2 separate regions of the Homo sapiens genome follow, and region 1 is linked to region 2. Evidence: promoter capture Hi-C in human tissues and cell types (Jung and others, 2019). All regions are on one chromosome and are shown on one strand. The core of a region is centred on a gene start or on the middle of the fragment in contact, and the rest is flanking DNA. Distances in the headings are between cores, read along the strand shown. Region 1 overlaps WDR11 (WD repeat domain 11). Region 2 holds the start of TACC2 (transforming acidic coiled-coil containing protein 2).

Evidence for each region. The method cuts DNA at HindIII sites, captures the fragments that hold promoters and counts their contacts. A contact is called where the count stands out against the background at its distance.
Region 1: a contact is called between a fragment that was not itself captured here and the fragment with the promoter of TACC2 in region 2, in 1 of the 25 tissues and cell types used here (dorsolateral prefrontal cortex).

The regions. Positions count from the first base shown.
Region 1 is chr10:120,862,354-120,867,629 of GRCh38, forward strand. WDR11 (WD repeat domain 11) reads left to right here. Exons shown (of 29, transcript NM_018117.12): 5 at 382-568; 6 at 2,694-2,859; 7 at 3,277-3,391; 8 at 4,216-4,411; 9 at 4,713-4,816. Among named protein-coding and RNA genes, the nearest start is that of WDR11, 14 kb to the left of the region's middle. The HindIII fragment of the contact is 3,529 bases long and covers 605-4,133 here.
Region 2 is chr10:121,985,677-121,990,798 of GRCh38, forward strand. TACC2 (transforming acidic coiled-coil containing protein 2) reads left to right here and starts at 3,487. Exons shown (of 23, transcript NM_206862.4): 1 at 3,487-3,812. The HindIII fragment of the contact is 30,860 bases long and covers 1-5,122 here.

The DNA of each region.
Region 1 (5,276 bases), core at 1,119-3,618, 1.1 Mb before region 2:
GGTCTCGAACTCCTGACTTCATGATCTGCCTGCCTCTGCCTCCCAAAGTGCTGGGATAATAAGGAAAGATTTTTAATGAAAGTCCGTGCCCTGAATTTATTTAGAAGAACAAACACTTGTTCTTTCTGCCAATAACCTTATGTTATCTTTTTAATATAAGACATAATATAGAATGCCAAGCTTGGAGGCCTCTGATGAATTGTAATGGACCACCTGTTTCTCTTCAACTTAGAGAACATTCCCATTATGTTATGAATGCATAACATTGCCAGTTATATATTATTAAAATTATCACTATATTGCTCTCAAAATTGTATTGGAATAAAACTGTATGCTAAACTTCATTAAACTTTAATCAGAGTTTTGCTTTTCTCAATATAGTGCTTACCAGCGAGGGTATTGTTTTCATCTCAGACTTCTCCCCATCCAAGCCTCCCTCAGGCCCTGGGAAAAAAGTTTACATATCCAGCCCACACTCTAGCCCAGCTCATAACAAGCTGGCCACAGCCACAGGTGCCAAGAAAGCTCTAAATAAAGTAAAAATTTTAATCACTCAAGAGAAACCTAGGTAAGTTACAAGTGTAAAATTAACATTCATCTACTTATCTGGTATGAAAGCATCATTTTTGGAGATGTACAAAGACTGATGTTTTTCTTCATCTCACTTTTTCTCATTTCTAATTTTGAATTTATTAGAGGAAAAAAATATTTATTTTTGTCCCCTGCCCTAAGAGGAGATTCAGCATTTAACATTGCCTTTGTTTCCACTAGCTGTGCTAAACTTCCCCACTGACTTTTATAGATTAAAATTTTTGAATTCTGATTTTTACTTGTGAAAATCGCAATGATCCTAAAGTTCAGGCAATTGAATGCATTAAAAATTTGGGCACAAAAGCTGGATACTCATTTTAAATACATTTTCCTGACTTAGGTGCTGTGCATTCTCATTCAGCAGTAAAATCGGAGTGTTTTTCTTATGCAGGTGAAGATGTCTCCCATCCTGGTTAAGAGCCAAGGCTCCGGGGGAAGCTTTAGCTATGAGACTGAGAAACTTCTTTAATCTTACTCAAATTTCTCTCTCCCAGTCTCTAAAATAAGGCTTTAAAGTATTTCATAGGGTTGTTTTAAAGATCAATAGATCCAATAATGTAAGTAAAGCATGTAATGTCATTGATACATAGTAATTTATTTAGAAGATGTCGGCTGTTATTAAGAAATTACAACTGAATAAAAGTTTATTTTAAGTAATTTGATGTATTCAAAATAGGTTTCTTTCTTTTTCCTATAGCAATAATCTGTATATTATTGCTTTGGCAGGCTTTTTTGTTTGTTTTGGCATTCATTTTCAGATAGCCTTTATTTTTAATATGCCAAGATTACTCTCTCTAGGCTTGGTGAGTAACTACTTGAAAAATATGTGGTAAAAATATAAATTGCTCTACAAATACATTTTGCACTTGTGTGTAAGTATCACTTCTATATATTAAGCCATAGGCTGGTTAAGTTCACTAGTTAATTTATCTCTCACCCTGTGCCAAAATGACTTAAGATTACTTCTTAAGTATCTTAAGAGAACTTTCTATTTTTTATGTATTCCCTCTCATAAACAAGAAATTATTTGGCAGTCTGAATAGTTTTATAAGTTATGTTTTATATTTCTTAAGTTTTCTCTCATATGAATTATATGTATATCTTGAGTATTGGGGAAATACATTATTTCTTCAAGTAGAACCGCTCTGGGTGCTTTCACATCTATTAATTCCTGGACTCTTACTACAATTCTGGCAGTAGTAATATTCCCATTTTACAAATAAGGAAAACTGAGTCCCACACCAATTTAAATAAAGTTACTCAAGCTCACCCAACTAGGACATGGCAGTCGGGATTTTAATGCAATAAAAATTCCTCTTTCTAGTCTTGTGAACTAACTTTATTTTAAATTTCAAAGCCTTTTAATAAAATTATGTTTGTAAAATGAAATGTAAAATGAAAATAGTACATAATTGTATGTCTATTCCTATTGAAATATATTTAATATAGAAAAGGTCATTGAATGTATGCAACAATCACAAATTATTAAAATGATTTTTCAGACCCTAACAATCTCTTAAAATCCTTATAGTTTCACCTGTTTTATTTACACACAAGAAAATGCTGCAATATAAGTGAAACTTTGTTTCAAAAAAGATTTAAGACAGCTTAAAAGTGAATGAAGGCAGCCAAGGGGAAGTTACTTGCCCAAAGCCATACAGATAGTCCAGTAACTCCTGGTCCAGGGGCCCTAATTACCCTAAATGTTGATGTTTTTCATCCTGAGTCTTGATTTTAACAGTTTGCCTAGTACTTTTAATGACAAAGTAAAAGTAAAATAAAACTGTCTTATGCATGCCAGCTATTATTATATTATCATTTACCATGTCTTGTGTAATATTAATAACTTAATATTCTACTACTTAATATTTCAAAAACTTAGAAACACTGACATTTCTACCCATCCTATACAATATTATTAGCATTTGGATTTTGGTACATAGTAGAGATCTAAGTTTTGGATGCCAACCCATGTTGGTCACTTCAGGGAATAGTTGTACATTTTTATTGTCAATTTTTATGTGTAAAGTACAAAATTAAATCTTTTATTAGGTCTGATATAAATGAAGTCTTTGACCCAAGTGAATGTTTACTTTTTTCAGTGCTGAATTCATAACTCTCAATGATTGCCTTCAGTTGGCATACCTGCCTTCAAAAAGGAATCACATGTTGTTGCTCTATCCTCGAGAGATTTTAATCCTTGACCTTGAGGTGAATCAGACGGTGGGTGTGATTGCAATAGAACGCACAGGAGTTCCATTTTTACAGGTATCTACAATTCATAAATTATATTCCCCAAAATTATTAAGAATGTTATATTAAAAGAAGGCCATAATCTTGCATAAGTCTTGTCTTCAGTTCTCCACTTTCTCTTTTCAATTTATCAAAAGACTAGCAACACTATTTTAGATTGTTTTTTTTGTCTGCACTTTTGATTGGTTTGATTTACCCTAGAAATTGTGACTGATCCTGAGATATTTATTGAACTATTTAAGTCACATGGGTAAAGACAAATTATTTTAGGATTATAAATGGATATTTTAAATGTACATTTAGTTTTAAAGTTTGGGATTTGTCTATTTTTTTTTCTTTTGCCCATATTATCTAAATATGAGTTTGAGTTTCACAGTATATACTTTATTAATCTATTGTGTTTTAAAAAATAAATATATCATCTATTTAAAGGTAATACCCTGCTTTCAGCGTGATGGTTTATTTTGTCTACATGAAAATGGTTGTATAACTTTACGTGTTCGAAGATCTTATAATAACATTTTTACCACTTCAAATGAGGAACCAGGTGAGTTTCTGTCTCACAATAATGTTATATTTTTCTTCAAAATTATTTTATAAAGCTTGATGTGGCAAATACCAGCCAAGGTATATAGTTAATGATACTCCTTGCTTTGAGGAAGTTTAAAATATGGTTATAATAAGAGGCATAAAAAGTATAAGCCCAAGATTAATCTCTTGATGTTAAAACAGTGCACCTCCTGTATACATCAAAGAGAGTAAAATTTTGTGTTTCTTGATCATATCCATGAGCCAAGTAGATATTATTTTTTGGAATTTTTTTTTTTTTTCAGTACAAGTCCAACCTTGTGTGCCTTTATTATTATACCCCCTTGACTTGTTGGCTGTAAGAACTTCCATTGTAAAGTGACAGAGGTTATTAAGTCTCAGTTGTCAAGTCAGTCTTATCTTGGAGAATGGAAATAATGTTTTTGTGAAATTATATACTGTGTAAAGATCAAAGTGATTTTCACATCTTTTGGAAAGTACAGTTATTTTCAGGCTTATAGACTACTACAAATTATGATGGAAATTTATTCATTAATTATATATCACTGTTGATCCTTTTTCAAAGTATCGTCTTTATTTTAAAATATTGAAAAAAGATATCTTGATTATAGTTGTTATTTTGGAAATTAAACTTAGTACAGTCATTAAGTAAATTATATTTGGAAAAAATTTAGTAGTAATTGTAAAAAGTGAAGCCATGCTTGACATTGCATTCATGAAGGAGTGATGCCCAAATTTAGTTGAGGTTTTATTTAAATTGAAACAAACAGTAGTGGTATCGATATGGCTGCTTTCTGATATTTAAAACAATTTTATGTGAAGATCCAGATCCAGTTCAGGAGCTTACCTATGATTTACGAAGCCAGTGTGATGCAATCAGGGTGACAAAAACCGTCCGTCCCTTCAGTATGGTGTGCTGTCCTGTCAATGAGAATGCAGCCGCCCTCGTAGTGAGTGATGGCAGGGTCATGATATGGGAACTCAAGTCTGCAGTTTGTAATCGAAATTCACGGAACAGGTAAATGAATCAACAGGATCATGGTTTTGTTTTTTGTTTCCTGTTTCCTTTTATAAAAAATTTCCATAATCATAAAAATAGGAGGGCTGGTTTTCTATAAAAATATTTTTAAGGTAATAATTAAGGCTTTAGATTATTAGGGAATTATGTAAATCTGCTAGAGCTATTTCACCTATGGGTAAGATGAATGAATAATATAAAAATAGATAGAATGCCATAATCTGGACTTAATACTTTGAATTCCTAATACGTAATGCAGATTTTAAGTATGTAAAACCTTCTAATTATTATGTCTTTGCAGTAGTTCTGGTGTGTCACCTTTATATTCACCAGTGTCTTTCTGTGGAATTCCTGTAGGAGTGCTACAGAATAAACTCCCAGACCTTTCCTTAGATAACATGATTGGTAAGCTTTTTTCCCCTCTAACTCCATGTTAAGTATTCTTTCTGAAGGGCAAAATTAATAGAATCACTCACTTGTAATTATTTTAAAGTCAAAAAAGTTAATACTTGAGAAAACTAGAACATGGAATCATTCTTTCCTAAATAAATCAGAGGGGTTTAAAATACTTAGGTAGAAAAGTGCCTGAAGTAGCACGGGTTTGCATTATAGTTGTTAGAAATAGAAAACGTTCATTCGTGAGAGACTGATGTAAATGAAAGCAATGACATTAGGCATCTGGATTTTGGACCTAGAGCCGATGCTGAGCTATGCCATGCCAACTCAGGGCCTTGCTGTTTGCTGGTTCCTCAGCTTGGAATGAAGTACATGCTTCCTTTCTGTCTGCTACTCCTAATTCAAAATTCAACTCAGATGTTGTTTTCTTTAATCTCCCAAGTCTAATTTAAATGCTCTTCTTTTGTTT
Region 2 (5,122 bases), core at 2,237-4,736:
ATCCTTGGTTAAACTCATTGCTTTCTGGATTCCATGTTTAAAACTTTTGTTTCGTTTATGCCCTGGTTTTGCTGAGGTATTTTCTTAGAAGAGATGTAAAGCAAGCTAGTTTTATGAGTCTAAAAAATGTCTTTATTTTTCTTTTCCATTTAGTTGAAGATTTGACTGGATATAGAATTTTGAGCTGAAACTAATTTTTCATCAGGAATTTAAAAGCATTGTTCCATTGTCTGCCTGAAATGGATTCTTTCTTTTTTTTTTTTTTGAGATGGAGTCTCACTTTTGTCACCCAGGCTCTAGTGCAATAGTGTGATCTCGGCTCACTGCAACTTCCGCCTCCCAGGTTCAAGCAATTCTCCTGCCTCAGCTTCCCGAGTAGCTGGGATTACAGGTACGGGTCGCCATGCCTGGCTAAGTTTTGTATTTTTAGTAGAGATGGGGTTTCATCATGTTGGCCAGGCTGGTCTCAAACTCCTGACCTCAGGTGATCTGCCCGCCGCGGCCTCCCAAAGTGCTGGGATTCCAGGCATGAACCATCATGCCCAGCCAAGATTCTGATCCAGCATTCACTCAACAAACATTCCAAGTATGTTCTAGGCACTAATGATACAGGTGCTCCCTGTAAATTCTTCATAAGTTAAAAGTATTGTAAGTTGAAAATGCATTTAACACACCTAACCTACTGAACATAGGGATATGGGAGTTAAGAAGAAATTACTTGGGCAGATAGTGAGGGTACGGAAGTCCTTGGTAAGGCTTTTATCCTTAATGAAAAGCAGCCCCAAATTGTTTTTTAACAAAGAGCAGCCTATAAAGTTGAGCTGCAGATATAAACAAGCAAGCTGGGAGCTTGCACAGGTGAATGCCGGCAGGAGCTAGGGACTATATGTGTTCAAGATGGTGGCTCTGTCTTCCTTTCTCTTTGTCGACCACCATACAATGTATTAAAGAGCAGTCAAGATAGTGCTGATCAACTGGAGAGTCCATTTACATAATAAGATTAGGGTGGGGCAGCCAGTCTTCCTCGCGGGCTATGTAAATGTCATACCTGATGGTACCAATCTATGAGGTCTGCGTAAATCAGACACCACCTTTTCCAGCCTGCCTATAAAATCTGCTGCGGTCCGCCGCCTCCCGTTTTGGACTTCTCTCTCTCTCCTTTCTTCTATTAAGTTTTCTACTTCTTAACCCACCCACGTGTGTCTGTGTCCTGAATTCTTTCTCATTGTGAGACAAGGAACCCCAGCATAAATACTCTAGACAATGTAGCTGTTAAAGTAGCATAGCCTAGCCTACCTAAAACGTGCTGAGAACACTTGCATTAGCCTACAGTTGGGCAAAATCACCTAACACAAAGCCTAGTTTGTGACAAAGTGTTGAATCTCATAGAATTTATTGAATACTGTACTGAATTTGAAAAACAGAATAGTTGTTTGAATACTCAAAGTACAGTTTCTGCTGAATGCATTCTCTCTTTTGAGCCATCTTATGATAAATCTACATCAAATTATTGTTATGTTAGGGAAGGAAACTGCCTTTGCAGAACTGACAGTAACAGAAATGTGACATGGTTGACTTCATCTTGCTTCTGACCTCCAAGCTGTCCTTGGTTATTCCTGGGCATAGGCCAAGCTAACTTTGGGAGGAATTCAATTTATAGTTTAATTTGAAAGTAAAGATTATAATAGTCCCTCCCTAAAACTAACCCCCTCCTTTCTCAGGGACCAAAATCGCCTTTGTAAGACTAATGAAAGGCCACAGGAATAGGATAATGGGAGAAGGCAGAACTCTGCTAAAATGTAGGCATAGTTTCTATAGTCCCTTAATGCCCAGGGGTCATGTGGCCAGAGTTCACAAGATCTGTGACTTTCCCAATTGCTCCTGTAAGTAACATCACTATTGTAGAACTTAAGATTGGGGTGTTTGTTTGTTTGTTTGTTTTTGTATTTTTAGTAGAGACGGGGTTTCACCATCTTGGCCAGGCTGGTCTCGAACTCCTGATCTTGTGATCCACCCACCTGGGCCTCCCAAAGTGCTGGGATTACAGGCGTGAGCCACCGCGCCCAGCCAAGATTGAGTTTTTTAAGATGTTTTTCAGACTGACCTCACTCAGACTCATGACTCATGACTCAACAGGTCCTGGGGCCCCACCCAGAGGCAGACTCAGTGCATGAGGACTGCTTTCCACACCGGTATGATTTCATCCCCAACCAATCAGCGGCACTATCCCCCTACCCCCTGACAACCAAATTGTCCATAAAAACCCTTGTTCCGAGCCTACAGGGAGACTGATCTGAGGGATAACTCCAGTTCTCCCACGTGGGCTCAGCCTCGCGGCAGTTAAACTCTTTCTCTATTGCAATGCCATGGTCTCAGTGAATTGATTTTTGTCTGTGCAGTGGGGAAGAAGAACTTGTTGGGTGGCTCCAGAACCATCTGTATAATGATGAATAAGACAAAGTCCCTACTCTCATGGAGGAGACAGATAATAAAGAAAAGAAAAAAAAAGGATTTGGTCATTGTAAGTGCTATGAAGAATTTAAATAGGCTAAAGGGATAGGTGGAGAATAGAAGTTGCATTTTTTCTTTCCCTCCAGATAGAGTCTCACTCTGTCACCCAGGCTGGAGTGCAGTGGTGCGATCTTGGCTCACTGCAACCTCCACCTCTGGGTTCAGGCAGTTCTCCTGCCTTAGCCTCCTAAATAGCTGGGATAGCAGGCACCTGCCACCACGCCCGGCTAATTTTTGTCTTTTTAGTAGAGAGGGGGTTTTACCATGTTCGCCAGGCTGGTCTTGAACTCCTAACCTCAAGTAATCCACCCACCTCGGCCTCCCAAAGTGCTGGGATCACAGGCATGAGTCACTGTGCCCGACCTGAAAGTTGCTATTTTAGGTGTGATGAGCAGCACAACATCTTTCCTGAGGAGGTGACATTTGAGATGTGACTTGAATTGTGAGGAGTAATGTGTCATGCAAAAATACAGGGAAGTCATATTGTAGTCAAAGGCAATAGCAAAAAAAAGTCTTTGGGGTTAAAATAAGTCTGACACATTCAAGAAAGTTCAGAAAGGCATACATACCTGTGTTAGAGTAGGTAGCTAGGGGAACATGAGAAGGGCAGCAGAGGGCATTCCACCCCCACCCCCAACCAGGAATGTCAGGCGACCATCATGTGATGGTCAGGTGGTTGTTACACTGTTTCTCTAAAATCATCATTGGTTGCAGCCAGCACCAGGGAAAGGCCGGCTCCCAATAGATAGAAAACACCTGAAGCTAGTGTCAGCCGCTTCCTGATAAGATCTCAGGAGTTGGGCAAGTGGGCTCAAGCATGGGCCCTAAGGGGCAAAATGTCAGAGTTTAACTAATATATGACCTTCCTCTAGGAATTCTCGACTGGCAAGGGAAAAATGCCTCAAATGAGCACGCGCACAACTTCAGTAAACACACTGTGAGTGCGGCCACTCCCAAGTGCTGGCAGACCACTGCATAAGTGGACAGCCTGCTCCAAGGGAAGGATCAGGAGAGAAGAAACGCAAATCCCAGAACCGTGCCAACATATAAAACCCCACATTAAGGGTTGTACAGTGCACTGGGATTTCTCAAGTCACCCGCTTGGTCCTCTTCCAAGTATACTTTACTTCCTTTCATTCCTCTCTAAAACTTTTTTAAAAACTTTCACTCCTGCTCTAAAAGTTATCTTGGTTTCTTACTCTACCTTATGCCCCTTGGGCGAATTTTTTCCTCTGAGGAGGGAAGAATAGAGTTGCTGCTGCAGACACATCAGATTCCCTACTGGTAACAGCTGGAGTGCGGTAAGTAAGGAGGAGAGGGCTGGAAAATGAAGTTGGCTCTGATTCCCATTACTTGAAAATACAGGGTAGGAAAACCCTATCTTCTTAGGTTCAGTGGCTGGGGAGCACCATCACTCAAGGTGAGAACTGCCTGGCTGAGCCCAGCCAACTCACAGAACTGTATGAGGTATTTTCATCTACTGTGCTAGGCACCTAGTGAGAGCCCTTTTGCGTCTTTCAACTTTGGAAAAAATTATGATTTATTTTTATTTTTTAAATTAATTTTATTTTTTTTTTTTATGTTTTTAGAGATAGGTTCTTACTCTGTCATCCAAGCCAGAGTGCGGTGGCATGATCATGGCTCACTGTAGCCCAGAACTACTGGGCTCAAGTGATTCTCCTGCCTCAGCTTCCCAAGCAGCTGGTACCACAAGCACATGCCAGCATGTGCAGCATGGGAAATATTTTTATGTTACCACCTCGACACTTTCTTCCTTCTACTTTTCTGTGTCATGTCTGCATCTCCCGTCACTTAGATAGGGACCTCACAGTTTGATTCTCCAGACCTTTAATATTTTTTCATATTTTAAATATTTCTTTAATTCTGTTTTTTGAGATATTTTATTAAATTTACCTTCAACCTTCTGTGGATTTTTTTTTTTAGACAGGGTCTTGCTCTACTGCCCAGGCTGGAGTGCAGTGGCATAATGATGGTTCATTGCAGCCTCGACCTCCCGGGCTAACGCAATCCTCCCACCAGGAGCAATCCTCTCAAGTAGTTGGAACTACAGGTGCATGCCACTAAATTCAGCTAATATTTTTTATTTTTTATAGAGATGGGGGTCTCGCCGTGTTGGCCAGGCTGGTCTCAAACCCCTAGGCTCAAGTGATCCTCCTGCCTCAGCCTCCCAAAGTGCTGGGATTATAGGTATGAGCCACCAAACACTGCCAGAATTTTAAATATCAGGATATAGGAAAGGTTTTGCTTTCGTTTTCAATTTTGTTTTTGTCTTATGGCACGGGGCCAGGCAGGGCAAAGGGTAGATTCCATTGACACTTATTTTTAATTTTCTGCCCAAGTACGTTCCCACCATTGTTCCTGGTGTTTCAGACCCTCTCCAGGGTCTGCAGAGTCTTGTTTGGCTGGAGCCCCTTCTACTCTAGTCTAATGCCCCTCTGCCCTAATTCCTCAACTACCAGGCCGTCACTGCTTTCCATTACCCACAACCATGGAGAAAGCTCTCATCAGCTAATGTGCCTTCTCCAGTTTGCCACATTATTACATTATTGTCTGGACATACCTGTTTTTTTGTTGTTGTTGTTTGTTTGTT